2 separate regions of the Homo sapiens genome follow, and region 1 is linked to region 2. The links are contacts of gene promoters, found by promoter capture Hi-C in human tissues and cell types (Jung and others, 2019). All regions are on one chromosome and are shown on one strand. The core of a region is centred on a gene start or on the middle of the fragment in contact, and the rest is flanking DNA. Distances in the headings are between cores, read along the strand shown. Region 1 overlaps B3GAT1-DT (B3GAT1 divergent transcript). Region 2 holds the start of B3GAT1 (beta-1,3-glucuronyltransferase 1).

Evidence for each region. Contacts are between HindIII fragments. The study calls those that stand out against the background at their distance.
Region 1: a contact is called between a fragment that was not itself captured here and the fragment with the promoter of B3GAT1 in region 2, in 2 of the 25 tissues and cell types used here (dorsolateral prefrontal cortex and pancreas).

The regions. Positions count from the first base shown.
Region 1 is chr11:134,462,654-134,466,098 of GRCh38, reverse strand. All of the region lies in intron 1 of B3GAT1-DT (B3GAT1 divergent transcript), which reads right to left. Among named protein-coding and RNA genes, the nearest start is that of B3GAT1-DT, 28 kb to the right of the region's middle. RefSeq lists an enhancer at 1-101. The HindIII fragment of the contact is 3,603 bases long and covers 1-3,245 here.
Region 2 is chr11:134,410,908-134,414,399 of GRCh38, reverse strand. B3GAT1 (beta-1,3-glucuronyltransferase 1) reads left to right here and starts at 2,158. Exons shown (of 6, transcript NM_054025.3): 1 at 2,158-2,593. RefSeq lists an enhancer at 3,010-3,492. The HindIII fragment of the contact is 21,477 bases long and covers 1-3,492 here.

The sequences.
Region 1 (3,445 bases), core at 195-2,694, 52 kb before region 2:
CGCTCACTGTGTAGAAGGAACCCGTGGTGAATTTTGGCTGGATATGGGGCCACTGGGGCAATGTGGTTTGGGTTATGAGTGTGAGCTTCAGTGTGGCACATACCAGGCTCAAATCCATACCCTACTCTCACTGCGCTTACTTCAGATAAGTTCTTCAACCTCTGGGTAAGGCTCCATGCTAATAAGCTGTAATAATAACCCTGACACAGTCACTGTAAGGACTGAAGAGGCGACACATGGGTGGAACTAAGCACTTGGTAAGCCCCCCATACATGTGGGCAGTTACGGAGCAGAGAGAATGCAGGCCTGACACTGGGAGGGCAGGTCAGGGGTTGTTTTTTGCTGGGACAATTCTCAACATGTGTTTTTCCCTACAACCACCCTACTTCACCTATCATTGAGACGTAATTGAAATATGGCTTCTCCCAAAATTCAGGAAATCAGGGTCTAGAGAAGTTCTATTGTTAGGCATAGGCATATACAGTGTCATATGGTCTCCACTCCACCCACCCCTCCTGCCCCAGCAGATCCAGCATGCCATGCCTGGAAACAGGAGAGCTTCACAGGGCACTTACGGAATCCACCAAGCATCTCCTCCTAAGGGCCACTAGGACCAGCCCACAGACATGGGAAAGCGCTGACTACCTTGTTTGCTGTGATGTTTCAGTACATAACTCCTGTTCTCCTAGAGCATTTCTCTTTTGTAAGTGAATTGGTATAGTGCTTGAATCCAGAAGGAGGGATCCTGGACTCCCCTCGTAAGCTCCCGGGAGCTTAAGAAATCAGCTGACAATTTCCTGTTGTCGAATTGTTCTAGCAGCATGAATGCGTCCAGCATAGACTCTCCCTGGTGTGAACTGGCCTGAAAGTTTTTACACCATCCTTTGGCAAGGAAGATGAGAAGCTTTTCCGTGAAAGAGTACACACAGCCCATGCATGACATAGCTCCAGGTATGTGCTCATTGTGATAGGAAAGGGCATCGGGAGGCCGAGCACCTTCAGCAAGAGGCCTGTGAGAAATGATTATCTAGAGGGTGTCGCTTCCATTCCCAACTCATCCCAGGCAGAGGTGATTCTCACCTTGCATTCGGGGCCACAAATGAGCGCTCTTGCAAATAGGCAGCACAGAAGAGCATCTTCATCCAGACCTCTTAACTCTCATAGGAAACATTAAGGCCATGACTATCCCATCCCAGGACTTTATTATGGTGTGTTTTAAATGCCATTCACCCTCCAGGTGGCCCCTCTGCTCACAGAATAAGTTCTCTGTGGTCTTAAATCTGTTAGCAAAATGAGGATGTAAATCCTCAGTGACTTGAGCCTGCTGTTCATATTTCTGAATAATCTGGGAATTTTGAAAGCTTGGAGGTGACTGACCCTGATTTTAAAATGTACCCAGGATTTATTTTAATTGGACACGACAAGGCCAACAGATCAGGAGACGCTTGTCTTTGAAAAGATAGTTTGTTACAGTTCCCAAGAGGAGGGGCAGTCCATACCACCCCGCTCAGGGCCATGTGGAGAAGCACCAGGTCAGTCAGGGGTGGGGACGAGAGGAGAACTTGGGCAAAATCCTTGGGAGTGGTGAAAAGGAATGGGGAGGCAGGGGGAGGGCTGGGCAGGCTCAGGCCTGGGTAGTTTGGGATTCCAGAAGGCTCTGGTTACACGGGCAGTCTCTAGCTGCCCGGCACCTGGCCCTGAGATGATTAGGGCAGGGAGATAGTGTCCCAGACTGCAGGATCCTGATCACGGGCGCTCCAGCCTGGTGGGTTTGCATATCAAAGACCTGCTGGCAGGCAAGTTGCTGGTGATCTCCAGGAATGAGCAAACCCTGGGAGAGGCAGTCTCTCTCTGGGTCCTCAAGGGCATCATAAAATACAGAAAATAAAAACATAATTAATAAAACGTTTTCCAGTGGTCATATTGCATTTGAGTTATAAAGTGTTTTATGAGTAGTGTCATTAGTCTTATTGCTATACATGGTCTCCCTGTCTATACCCTTCTTTTGAATCATTATCAACATAATGTTAAATTCAGTCCAGAGGAAGCACTAAAGAATCCTCCACAGAACCTCACAAGGGGGCCCTGCACATTCTCCTCAAACATTCACAAGGGTGTGGCTCTGTGGTGCCAGCAGCACGGCCCTCAGCAAGCTGGTGGGCATGGAAAGCTGTGTTTCTATCCTACAGTTTCAACAAGCACAGCTCATCCAATGCCCTGGATAAAAGAAAGGAGAAAGAGCGAGATGTGAGTGCCAGTGTGGACGCCGTAAGCCATGAGGAGAAAGCCAGCATCCCTGCGGGCCCCTGTGTTCCTTACTTCAAGGGGTGGAGGGGCTCCTCAGTGTACCCTGGGAACCTGGCTGCTCAGAAGGACATCTTTAGCAAACTCCAAAGCAGGGCTCCTGGCCCTAGAAAAGGATAGCATTTTACCTCACAAATGGGACTTACAGACGTATTTATCAAATTATTATTATTTCACAAGGTAATGCTCAATTTTATACATTTTTTTTTGTTTCTTAATGCTGTCTATAACCTACCAAACTGATTTCACAAGCAGTCATGGGTTTTAACCTGCAGTGTGAAAAAGCTGCTCTAAAGAAACGCAAAGCCTTCCAGGAGACTCAGTGAGATGCCACAGCTGATATCGTACAGGTAGTTTATTTTTAACTAAATATATTTACTCTTTTTATAAAAATGACATATTTTCCATGTAAAAATTCAAACATGTGAAATCCCCCCAAAAAAGAGAAAAAAAAAACTCTCTCAGACCTGAAGACACTTACCACTTACTTTTTAGTGACCTCCCTTTCAGAATACTCCCTTTCACATATAGACATTGATATACCCTACTATACAATGGGCATTGTAGGATACTGTCCAGGCTATAGGATACTATACATGCCGTTCTATTATTCTGTTTCATGAAAAATGGCATTCAAGTCTCTTCATTTTCATCACTATCTTTAAGGGTTAGTGTTTTATTGTAAGGATCTCCAATAATTTGCTCTACCAATTCACTATTGATAGGCATTTTCAATGTTCCCATTGTTTTACAATTATAAATGATACTTTAATGAACATCCTTGAGTATGCATCTCTTTATACCGCTGTAATTTTCTACTTATGATAAACCTGGAAGTGGACTCATTGATTCAGAGAGTAAACACTTTTATATTTAATACATAGTACCAAACTGCCCCCAAAATGATATGACAACTCTCCCTAATAGCACTTAAGATTGTCCAAATCCTCACAACACCTCTAACACTGGGTTTTGTCCATTTAAAATTTTTTTCAATACAATAAGAGAAAATATCTTATTATTGTTGGTATTTGCATTTTTTTAATTTCTAGTGAGGATGAGTATCTTTGCATAGCCTAATTATACATTTGTATCTCTTTTGTATGTTTGTGTGTGCAAATTACCTGTTCAAACCCTTCAC
Region 2 (3,492 bases), core at 909-3,408:
CTAATTTTAATCTCCTATTATTGTTTTAAATTGGCTCTAAAAATTAATACTAAAAATTCTGTAAACAGAGCCTGGAACTAAGATGCAAGACAGGTCCCTTGAAAGCGGCTTTATTATCACAATTGTTCCTGCCAGAATGCTGAGGTAAAGCCGAGAACCCCTGCAGACAGCATCTCCGAGCCACAGCCCAGCAGGACAAGTCGGACCACAGCCCACTTAGTCCAACCCTCTGTTTCATTACTGAAACCAGCCCTGAGGGGAAGTCTTTTGCTAGTGCCTTCAGAATCGGCCTGAAACCCAGGCCTCCTCGTCGCCATGTCCCTGAGCTCTCTTGAGATCACCCCTCATGGGTGTGTTTCCCTGTTGGTAAAATGAGGGTCTGGAACGAGACAGTCTTCACGGTCATTTCTGTCCTCCCATTTGGTGATTGTGTGACTGCGGCTGGCTGGCTTAGCAGAGGAGGGAGGCAATGTGCCCTCCTGGACGGCCTGGCCCCTCCTTGGTGCTCTCTGGTACCCCCGCCCATCCTGCTTCTGCACCTGCCCTTCCCCTCCCTTCAGCTGGTGTGGAGTCTAAGGAGAAGCAGAGTATGGAGACTAGGAAAATACCAGAGAACACCGACTTAGGAAAGGTCTCTTAGCAGAGTCTAAAAGAGAGGGTTGTAGTAGGGGCAGAAGAAGGCGGAGCAAGGCTGGCTGGGATTCCACTCATTAAGAGAAGGGGGAAATGCTCCTGTACCGCAGCAGGAGGTACTGAGGTTAGATTCAGAGGAAGTTTCTTGCCGGCAAAGGGGGCTGTTAAGCACAACAATGAAAGAGCGCACGACAAGGAGGAGCAGTTATCCCTAGAGATAGTCACTAAGGACACTTTCACATGTCTGTGGCATGATACGGACGGTGAGGTGCCTTCCTCCCCTCAAAATCTTGACCAAAGGGGCTGATTCTGGAGTCTCTGCCCCCTCCCCACCTGCACATCCTCAGTGGGAAGAGCAGGGCCCGGCTTGGTCCTAACAGGGCAGGAAAGCTGATGGAAAAGAGGCCCGTGGTCCTCAGCCCCAGCCCATAGCACGGGGGCACAGCTCTGGTTAAGCAGTGCCTAGCAGTGGGGCTGGAACTGGTTTCCCGGGAAGGAGGGAGACCCTAGAGAAAGTACCGACAGTCCCTGGTCCCGCCGCGAACCCCGCCATGGGAGGTGGCCTTCTCCTGGGGCTGTGAAGAGGACACAGCGGGTGTGGCCCGAATACAGGTGTCCAAGAGCACCGGGAGATGCCAACCTCTAAAACGAGTGCAAGGATGGCTTCAAAGTCTCCGACAAGCTGAAGGAGTATCTGGAATATACAGCTCCACAGAGGCACCCTACCAGTGCACCCACATACGTCCAAGTGCGCGCCCACTCACTGGCCTCCGTCCCCCGCCGACCAACACACCGCGGCAGAGGCCCGGGAAACTCCTGGAGATCCCGCTGCCCCCGGCCTCCCCGCGCCCGTCCGCCCACGCAGGCCTCCCGGGCCTCTCTCCGGAACGCCGGGTGCACCGGCCCGGAAGGGGAGGCTGGGGTGAGGCTGACGCGCGGCGGCTCGAGGTGCCCTTCCACGGGGCAGCAGACCCCGTACCCCGGCACGGCACCGTCCGCCCCCACCGGCCACCTCCCATCCGGGGTGCCTGGAGCCAAGGAAGGAGCCGCATCCCCCACCGGCTTCCCAGCTCGGCCTCTCGGTCCCAGAGCGCCGCCCCCCGCCCTCCTGCAGCAGCCCGGCCGGAAACAATCACCCTTTGAGAGAGGCTGCCAAGCTGGGCGCCAGGAGCAGCCAGGATGGAGGCGGGGTGGAATGGGGGTGCAGGCGGGGGCCGAGCTTTAACTCTCGAGAGCCGAGATCTGGGGGTGCGCTCGGCCCCTGCCCGCCACCCCTGCTCCGCCGCCTGAAGCGGGAGCCGCCTCCGCGGGGGACGGTGCCGGGGGAGGGTGGGGGGCGGTGGGGAGGTGATACCAATCCCGGGGGGGGGTCCCCTCGCCGGCCTCCCTCCTCGCGCCCCCGCCTAGGCTGGCGAGGTTGGTACCGACCATTAGCAGCTCGGGTCCCGCCGGCGCTGGCGCGGGCTCGGGGCGGGGGCGGGGCGGGGGCGGAGAGCGGGTGGGGGCGGGGCGGGAGGCGCCGGCAGAGCCGCGGCGGCACCGGCGCATCCGCCGCCACCTCGGGGACTCTGCGCCGGCCCGGTCGGCTCGGCTCCGGCCGCGCGCCCCCCTCGCCCCTCTCGCCCCCGCGCCCGCTCCCCGCTCCCCCTCCCCGCTCCCCCTCCCCGCCCCCCGCCCCCCGCCTCCCTGCCCGCGCCCTCCCTCCCGCGCGCTCCCAGCCTTCGGCCGCCGCCTCGCTGAGCCCAGAACGAGCCGGGCCGGGGCGGCGGGGCCGGGCGGGGCGGGCGGGCGCGCGGACCCCGCGGCTATGAAGTGGCCCCCGGGGGCCCGGAGCCCGACAGTCCCCGGGGAGGGAGCCGCACGCGGCCCAGGGCAGCGGTCTAGGGGCGCCGGGGCCGGGGCGTAGGGGCCGTTGCCCGCGATGGACCGCACCGGAGACGCTCCGGACTCGTCGCCGCAGGTCAGTGCTCCCCGCGCCCCCGCGGGCGCCCCGCCGCGCACAGAGCCCCTTTCTGCGTCCCCATCGGTGCCCACGCCATGTCCTCCCGGGCGCGCGCTGGGGTGTGTGTGTGTGTGTGTGTGTGTGTGTGTGTGTGCGCTGCGCGCGCTGGGGGCAGCTGGAAAGGGGGCCGAGAACCGAGCTCGGGCTGGGAGGCGCTGCTGCCGAGGGGCTGCGAAACAAAACCCGGCACAGCCTGCCCTCGTCGACCGGGATTAGGGGAAGAGCTGGTTCTCAGCAGCTTCTAACAATCGGCCCGGGCTCTCAGTCGTCAGTTCCCGGCCCCCTCAGCAGGTGGTTTCTGGTGGCCGGATGAGGAGTCAGGGGTCAGTCGTCCCCCACCTCCCCACCCCTGCTGCCCAACAGCGCTCTCTGGATCGCTCTCTGGCTCCTGGGCACTGCCAAGTTAACTCTCTTGAGGGGGCCCGAGCTCTGCGGGGCGCGCTGAGGGACCCAGGGGTAGCAAGGGTGGCAAAGGGCCCTTGGGACCTTCGGTGTAGCAAGGAGGAAGGAGGCGCGACCAGTTCACCACCCTCCCATCTGCACCTGGGCTCAGGTCTGAGGTCCCAATCCCTCCAAAGTCAGAGCACACAACTTCCAGAAAAAGGAGGCTGAGAGTTGAGGCAGGAAATAGAGAAGGAAGCCACCAGGTCCGACAGTGCCAGGGTAAGGAGGTGACAGCCCCGTACCAAGCAGCTAAGGTCAAGAACCACCCCCACATGCACACACATGGGAGCCTTGGCCAACTTCCCTGTCCCCTTCCTCCCCCAGCCAGGCCTAGCTGCATGGATTCTTGTAGAAGCTGGAGCTGAAGGACTCTGGACATACAGGAAGGGGACCTTTACTGACAGTTGCTAGCC